Regions from separate parts of the Homo sapiens genome. Here region 2 is linked to region 1. The links are contacts of gene promoters, found by promoter capture Hi-C in human tissues and cell types (Jung and others, 2019). All regions are on one chromosome and are shown on one strand. Each heading gives the region's core, a stretch centred on a gene start or on the middle of the fragment in contact. The rest is flanking DNA. Distances are from core to core; before and after follow the strand shown. Region 1 holds the start of ICMT (isoprenylcysteine carboxyl methyltransferase). Region 2 overlaps ACOT7 (acyl-CoA thioesterase 7).

Evidence for each region. Contacts are between HindIII fragments. The study calls those that stand out against the background at their distance.
Region 2: a fragment that was not itself captured here is called in contact with the fragment with the promoter of ICMT in region 1 in 1 of the 25 tissues and cell types used here (lymphoblastoid cells).

The regions. Positions count from the first base shown.
Region 1 is chr1:6,234,578-6,238,765 of GRCh38, forward strand. It overlaps ICMT (isoprenylcysteine carboxyl methyltransferase), which reads right to left and starts at 1,387. Exons shown (of 5, transcript NM_012405.4): 1 at 1,140-1,387; 2 at 309-397. The coding sequence starts at 1,334. ICMT-DT (ICMT divergent transcript) reads left to right here and starts at 1,663. Exons shown (of 5, transcript NR_103534.1): 1 at 1,663-1,759; 2 at 2,389-2,573; 3 at 2,668-2,768; 4 at 3,237-3,271; 5 at 3,644-4,188. RefSeq lists silencers at 1,056-1,115, 1,326-1,655 and an enhancer at 1,620-2,592. The HindIII fragment of the contact is 11,307 bases long and covers 1-4,188 here.
Region 2 is chr1:6,368,317-6,372,739 of GRCh38, forward strand. All of the region lies in intron 1 of ACOT7 (acyl-CoA thioesterase 7), which reads right to left. Among named protein-coding and RNA genes, the nearest start is that of ACOT7, 23 kb to the right of the region's middle. RefSeq lists an enhancer at 1-183. The HindIII fragment of the contact is 6,575 bases long and covers 1-4,423 here.

The sequences.
Region 1 (4,188 bases), core at 137-2,636:
GAGGACCTGCACCCCTTCCGGGAAGGGCTGCTCAAGTTACGGAATGCTGTCACCACAGCTGCGGATGACAGCACCTTTGGGGGTGCCAGGGAGATCTGTTTCTGCCTGATTCACAATCAACCCACAGGCACGAAATCACAAGGGCTGAAATGTGAGCAACTAGGGGGAAGCCAGGAGACTTCGTTTCCAGAGAACCCTGAACAGCCTTCTGCCGGTCACAGATGAGACAGGGATGAGGAAATGCCGCTACAGACCCTCTGATCTGTCCACCCTCGCCTGAAAACCAGTATTTCCGAAGGAATTCTTACCAGCCAAAGTGACTCCAAGAAGACTGGCTAAAACTTAGCAGCGTGCCGCAGCCGAACACAAACCCCAGGAAACAAGCTCGGATGGCTATCTGAAAGGAACCCAAGAGAAGCTCAGTCATTCACAGTCCTCAGAGTACAGATCTGGGCTGCTGACCTTCCCGGAATAGGCAACCCACAGGCAAGCAGATAGAGCCGATTTGCTGAGGTTGAAAGGGAGAAGTGGGCGACCTGGGTTCAAATTCTGCACCCACCGCTCTCTGGCTGTGTGGCCTCCCAAATTATTTAACCTCTCTGAGCTTGCTTCCCCATCTACAGCCAGGGGATAACAGTACCTACCTTTTAGGACTGCAGTAAGGATTACCCACGTAAAACACTTAAGACTAACTGCTACCTACATTTTAGCTGTCATTATTATTATTATTCGTGATTACTATTCAGGGCTGTAGGAAAACTGCTTAAGCCTAGTTTATGAGGTCAGGGCACCCGGGCCTGTGCGCCCAGCCCCACCCACGTCACTGCGGGGCCTTTGACCTGAGACAGGGCAGCAGGTAGGTCTCTGCACCTTAAGTTACATAAAAGCACTCGCGGGCTCGCTCACTCCACCCCACGCGCACCTGCTGAGCTGCACAAGCTGCAATTTAACAACCCACTCCTCGGGTGCAGGGCGCCCGAGCCCGGAGAGAGAGGGTCCCCTCCTGCGACCTGAACTCGCGGATGAAGAGCGCGCGCGTGGGAGGCCACTGCGGGCCCGGGGAGAAAGGTGCCCACGCGCCGCGCCAAGCGGACCGCCGCCCGCCCCGCCGGCCCCCGCCGGCCCCCGCCGGCCTGCACCTGGTAGCGAGGCGGCCGATAGAGCAGCAGCAGCAGCGCGTTGAGCCCGGCCACGTAGAGCGCCAGCCCGGTGCGGCCCTGCAGGCCGGCGCGCGTGAGCAGCGGCAGCGCGAGCACCGAGGCGCCCAGCAGGAAGGTGGCGAGGCTGAGACGCGCCTCAGAGCCCGGCGGAGCCCGCGCCGCGCAGCCCGCCATGGCGCCGGGCGGCGGACTAGCGGGCGGCGGCGCCGGCTGTAGCCCGGAGAAACGCGCCGGCTGCGCCTGCGCACTGTGCCGCCGATGCCGGCCCGGGAAGGGCAGCTGCCCGCAGCTGCGCGCCGCCTGCCAGTTCTCGCGAGAACTCCGGCCCGCCCTGTTGCTGTCCGGAATTTGGCGGGAGCGCCCCGCCCGCCCGCCCCTCCCCGCCCCTCGGGGACATCCGGGCTCTGAGCCAGACTCTGTGCCGGGCGGGGGCCGGGAAGTGGTGGGAGAAGTCGCCGCCCGCGTCTGTCCAAACTTAGTCCCAAACTCAGGAGGTTCCTGTCCCAAGAAGCAATGTAAAGTTTGAAACGAGCCGAGCGCGGTGGCTCACGCCTGTAATCCCAGCACTTTGGGAGGCCGAGGCTGGCGAATCATTTGAGGTCAGGAGTTCGAGACCAACCTGGGCAACATGGGGAAACGCCGTCTATACTAAAAATACAAAAATTAGCTGGGCGTGGTGGCGCACGCCTTTAACCCCAGCTACTTGGTGAGGCTGAGGCAGGAGAATCGCTTGATCCGGGGAGACGGAGGTTGCAGTGAGCCGAGATTGTGTCACTGCACTCCAGCCTGGGTGACAGAGTGACACTCCATCTCAAAAAAAAAAATTTTGAAACGGCCGCACCCTCGCCGGCCCTGCGTCGTCCCCGAAAACCAGACGCCCTGGGGCGCGGGGCCAAGTGCGGCGACCTCCTGCCCTCCCTCTGCGGCTCCCTGGAAACCGGCCTGGACAACGGCACCTGGGCATCCATGCAACGGGACCACCGCCCGCTTAAATTCCTGTTGTGGAACAAGGCTGGACGGTGATGGGAATGCTCAGGATATGTTAGGTTTTCTTTTTTTTTTGAGACGGAGTCTCGCTCTGTCGCCCAGGCTGGAGTGCAGTGGTGCGATCTCGGCTCACTGCAAGCTCCGCCTCCCGGGTTCACGCCATTCTCCTGTCTCAGCCTCCCGAGTAGCTGGGACTACAGGCGCCCGCCACTGCGCCCGTCTTATTTTTTTGTATTTTTAGTAGAGACGGGGTTTCACCGTGTTAGCCGGGATCCATCTCCTGACTTCGTGATCCGCCCGCTTCGGCCTCCCAAAGTGCTGAGATTACAGACGTGAGCCACCGCGCCCTGCCTATATTAGGTTTTTAAATAGCAGGAGGCAAAGCTTTTCGGTGTGATCCTGACTTCACTTGGGGAAAAAGGGCAGGTATCTGAGCCTGGGAAAATGATCAAGCTATCAGCCAAAATGGTATAACGCCGACTATATATGTACCTTTTTTTTTTCTTTTTTTCTTTTTTAGACACAGGGTCTCACTGTGTTGGCCAGGCTGGAGTGCGGCAGTCTGGAACTCCTGGGCCCAAGTGATCCTCCAATCAGCCTCACAAAGCACTGGAATTACAGGTATGAGCCACCACCCCTGGCCTATCTTTAGGTAGTGGCACTCTTGGTGATTTTTATTGTCTTTATCTGTTTTTGCAGTTTCCATACTGCCTACAATGAACACAGGATACTTTTTTTTTTTCAGATGGAGTTTTGCTCTTGTTGCCCAGGCTGGAGTACAATGGCGCAATCTCGGCTCACTGCAACCTCCGCCTCCGGGTTCAAGTGATTCTCCTGCCTCAGCCTCCTGAGTAGCTGGGATTACAGGAGCCTACTACCACGGCCAGCTAATTTTTTTGTATTTTTAGTAGAGACGGGGCTTTACCATGTTGGCCAGGCTGGTTTCAAACTCCTGACCTCAGGTGATCCACCCGCCTCGGCCTCCCAAACTGCTGGGATTATAGGCATGAGCCACCGTGCCCGGCCCATAGATTACTTTTATAATCAAGTTTTTCTTTACTTTTTAAAGAGTAAATTCTCTCACCTCAGGTAGCTCAGAGAGCTGCGCTGGAGGAGAAAAGCCAGTAAGTGAACAACTGGAATAAACTCTGCAGGGGTGGCAGTGGGGGCAGAAGGAGAGCAAGGATGGGGAGCAAAGAGGGACCCCAGGGGAGGCCCTCAGCTTGGAGGGCGGCAGGGCGAGGAGGCTGCGAGGAACAGACGCCAGAGCTAGGCCTTGGGGCCCTTGGGGATGGACAGCCTGCCCTCCATTGGAAATGAGATCAAGGAGGGAGTGAGGGCTTGGCGTTTGAAAGGCACAGAGGCGGGAGGGAGAAAGGCTGAGAAGGGATGGGGACAGGCCCTCGGGGAGGCTGGCATCAAGTGGTGGGTCAGCGAGAGAGGCAGGCGGTCTGTGAGCCCTGCATCTGAGCCCCTCTCCACTCTTGTCCCTGCAGGTCCTGGCAGGAGCTCTGGTACCTGGGAAGCTGGATGGAGAGCCTGGGCCAGAATCCCGGACCCCTCACCTCTGCGGCCTAGCTTTGTGACCTTGGCAAATCCATTCTATGCACCTCCATTTCCTGTACAGTGGGGATCCTTATTTCTCTGGCACAGATTGGTATTTGTTCTGTAAAGCCCAGTACCACTTTATTTTATTTTAGTTATTGATTTTTTTGAGACAGGGCCTCACTCTGTTGCCAAGGCTGGAATGCAGTGGCGAGATCATAGCTCACTGCAGCCTCAAACTCCTGGGCTCAGGCCATCCTCCTGCCTCGGCCTCCTGAGTAGCTGGGACGACAGGCGTGCACCACTGCGCCTAGCTCCAGTACCATGTTTAAACGGTGCTCAGAAAACGTGCTAAACTTGGTGGATGGGAATTGAAAAGAGATTTAATGTTTTAAAAATCAAAGTCACTCAGCTGCAGTGCCACATGGGAAGGAGGCCTGGATGTGAATGTTCCTGGGAGCTGAGAGCTCCTGTGACTGTCGCCAGTTTCCTGTGG
Region 2 (4,423 bases), core at 1,603-4,102, 140 kb after region 1:
GTCTGAAGGGCACCATCAGCAGGGTGGGTGCGGTGGCTGCACCGCAGTCCAGGTCCCCAAAGTGAATGCCGCTCCCACTTCCCGCCCCAGGGCCCTGAAGCATAACCCAAGCTCTGCATCCCAGGCCCAGCCCCCACACTCCATATGCAGGTGCAGCATCACCCCAGGCCCAGCTCCACCTTGGGGCCCCTCTCTGCCCGCACCTCCATGCCCAATCATGCTGCTTCCCCACCAGCAGGCAACTCAGCCTGGCCCCGTTGTGGTGGCTCCCAGGGCAGTGGGCTCTGGGAGACTCCCAGGGGTAGACTCCAGGGACTGACTATTTCCTCTGCACACCCCTCCCCACAGTGAGAGCGGGTAAGAGCTCTGACACTGAGCCAGGGTCTGGAGCGGCAAGGCTCCAGGCCTGGGAGCAGGTCCTGCCTGGCTGTGCAAGGATGGGGGCGGTGCAGTCAGCTGCCCGGGGAATGCAGGGCACAGGGGACCCACTGCTGCCACTGCTGCTGCCACTGCTGCTCCCACAGCTGCTCCTGCCACCACTGCTTGCACCACCCCACTGCACCTGGCGTGAGGGCAGGGGTTGCTCCAGATGGCCCACCATTGCCATTACTTTCTTGTCATTTCAGCAATGTTCATGGCATCTTCCCCAAGACTACATTCCATCTTAAGAAACCACTTTCTTTTTTTTTCTTTTTTGCTCTGTTGCCCAGGCTGGAGTGCAATGGCACAATCTTGGCTCACTGCAACCTCTCCACTTCCTAGGTTAAAGCAATTCTTGTGACTCAGCCTCCTGAGTAGCTGGGATTACACACACATGCCACCACATCTAGCTACGTTTTGTATTAGTAGAGACGAGGTTTCACCATGTTGGCCAGGCTGGTCTCGAACACCTGACCTCAGGTGATCCACCCACTTTGACCTCCCAAAGTGTTGGGATTACAGGCGTGAGCCACCTCGCCTGGTCTATAAATATTCTTAATGGCTTCTAGAATAGTGAATGCTTTCCAATGTAAATTTTTCAATTTACATTGCCCAGATCAGAAGAACCACTATGGCAGCCAGAGCCCCACAAAATGCATTTCTTTTTTTTTTTTTTTTTTTTTTTGTAGAGAAGGAGGCTCACTCTGTCGCCCAGGCTGGAGTGCAATGGCACAATCTCAGCTCACTGCAACCTCCACCTCCTGGGTTCAAGCAATTCTCCTGCCTCAGCCTCCTGAGTAGCTGGGACTACATGCACATGTTGCCATGTCCAGCTAATTTCTTTTTTTTCTTTTTTTTTGGAGATGGAGTCTCGCTGTATCGCCCAGGCTGGAGTGCAGTGGCACGATCTCAGCTCACTGCAAGCTCCGCCTTCCAGGTTCATGCCATTCTCCTGCCTCAGCCTCCCAAGTATCTTGGACTACAGGCGCCCACCACCACGCCCGGCTAATTTTTTGTATTTTTTGTAGAGACAGGATTTCAACATGTTGCCCAGGCTAGTCTCAAACTCCTGAACAAAGGCAATCCACCTGCCTCAGCCTCCCAAAGTGTTAGGATTACAGGCCCAAAATGCATTTCTTAAACAATACAACTTGAAAGTCAAGATTACTCCTTGATCCATAGGTTGCAGAATGGATGTTGAGTTAATAGGTGCTATTATCCACTATGGTTTGGATATGAGGATCCCTAACCTCATGTTGAAATTCAATCCCAATGTTGGAGGCAGGACCTAATAGGAAGTGTTTGGGTCACAGGATGGATCCCTCTGGAAGGGCATGGTGCCATCCTCGTGGTCATGAGTGAGTTCTCACTTTATTAGCCTCTGGGAGAACTAATAGTTAAAAGGAGCCTGGCACCTCCCTTCTCTCTCACTTCTCTGGCCATGTGACCTGCACACACCAGCTTCCCTTCCCCTTCTGCTGTAAGTAGAAGTGGCCTGAGTCCCTCGCCAGAAGAAGATGCTGGTGCCATGCTTCCTGTACAGCTTGCAGAACCATGAGCCAAATAAAGCTCTTTCCTTCATAAATTACCCAGCTTCGGGCATTCCTTTACAGCCACACAAATGGACTAAAGCCAGCAGGCACGAAAACAAAATTAATCTCCTTGTGCATCTCCATCAGAGCTCTTGGTTTATCAGGTCTATTGTCAATGAGCAGTGTTAGTATTATTATTATTATTATTATTATTATTATTATTATTATTATTATTATTTGAAATGGAGTCTCGTTCTGTCACCTGGCCTGGAGTGCAGTGGTGCGATCTCAGCTCACTGCAGCCTCCGCCTCCCTGGTTCAAGTGATTCTCCTGCCTCAGCCTCCCAAGTAGCTGGGATTACAGGCATGCACCACCATGCCCAACTAATTTTTGTATATTTTTTAGTAGAGATGGGGTTTCACCATGTTGGCCAGGCTGGTCTCGAGCTCCTGACCTCAGGTAATCCAACCACCTTGGCCTCCCACAGTGCTGGGATTACAGGCATGAGTCACCACGCACAGCCAATGATTAGTATTATTTTGATTTTTTTTTTTCTTTTGAGACAGAGTCTCACTCTATTGCCCAGGCTGGAGTGCAGTGGTGCGATCTCGGCTCACTGCAACCTCTGCCACCTGAGTTCAAGTGATTCTCCTACCTCAGCCTCCTGAGTAGCTGGGATTATAGGCGCCTGCCACTGCGCCTGGCTAATTTTTATATTTTTAGTAGAGACAGGGTTTCGCCATCTTGGCCAGGCTGGTCTTGAACTCCTGACCTCGTGATCCACTTGCCTCAGCCTCCCAAAGTGCTGGGATTACAGGCGTGAGCCACCGCACCCGGCCTGATCAGTATTATTTTGAAAGAAATCTTTTTTCTGAGCAGTAGGTCTCAACGGCAGGCTTAAAAATATTCAGAAAACTATGCTATAAACAGATGTGCTGACATCCAGGATTTGTTGTTCCATTTATAGAACACAGGCAGAGTAAATTTAGCATAATTCATAAGGGCCCTAGGATTTTCAGAATAGTAAATGAGCATTGGCTTCAACTTAAAGTCACCAGCTGTATAAGCCCCTAACAAGAGAGTCAGCCTGTCCTTTTTTTTTTTTTTGAGACAGAATCTCACTCTGTCACCCAGGCTGGAGTGCTGTGGCAGGTGCAATCTTGGCTCACTGCAACCTCTACTTCCTGGGCTCAAGCGATTCTCCTGCCTCAGCCTCCTGAGTAGCTGGGACTACAGGCAAGTGCCACCACACTCAGCTAATTTTTGTATTTTTAGTAGAGACAGGGTTTTGCCATGTTGGCCAGGCTGGTCTCAAACTCCTGACCTCAAGTGATCCACCCGCCTCAGCCTCCCAAAGTGCTGGGATTACAGCGTGAGTCACCAGACCTAGCCTGTCCTTGGAAGCCAGGCATTGACTTTTCCTCCCTAGCTATGAAAGTCCTAGATGTTATCTTCTTTCAACAGAAAGCTGTTTCACCCACACTGAAAACCTAGGCAGGGCATAGGGGCTCACGCCTGTAATCTCAGCATTTTGGGAGGCTGAGACAGGCAGATCATTTGAGGTCAGGAGTTCGAGACCAGCCTGGCCAACATAGTGAAATCCTGTCTCTTCTAAAAATAAAAAAATTAGCCAGGTGTGGTAACGTGCACCTGTAGACCCAGCTACTCGGGAGGCTGTGGCAGAAGAATCTCTTGAACCTGAGAGGTGGAGGTTGCAGTGAGCCGAGATTGCACCACTGCACTCCACCCTGGGCGACAGAGCAAAACTCTGTGTCAAAAAAAAAAAAAAGAAAAAACCTATTGTGTAGCCACCCTCACCGGTGATCTCAGCCAGATTCGGATAACCTGCTGCAGCTTCTCCAGCAGCACCTGCTGCTCTACCTTGTACTTTCATGTTATGGAGGTGGCTTCTTTCCTTCAACCTCATGAACCAACCTCTGTTAGCTTCACGCTTTTCCTCTGCAGCTTCCTCACCTCTCTCAGCCTTCATAGAATTGAAGAGAGTTACGGCCTTGCTCTGGATTAGGCTTTGGCTTAAGGGAATGTTGTGGCTGATTTCATCTTCTCTCCAAATCACTAAAATTCTTCTTCTCCGTTATCAGCAAGAAGGCTGTTTTGCTTTCTTATCATTCATGTGTTCACTGGAGCAGCACTTGTAATTTCCTTCGAAGGACTTTTCCTTTGCATTCACAACTTGGCTAACTGTTTGGCACACGAGGCCTAGCTTTCAGCCTATCTCAGCTTTCAACATGCCTTCCTAAGTTTAATCATGTCTAACTTTTGGCTTTTTTTTTTTTTTTTTTGAGAGTCTCGCTCTGTCGCCCAGGTTGGAGTGCAGTGGCACGATCTTGACTCACTGCAACCTCCACCTCTGGGTTCAAGAGGTTCTTCTGCCTCATCCTCTGAGTAGCTGAGACTACAGGCGTATGTCAACACACCTGGCTAGTTTTTTGTATTTTTAGTAGAGATG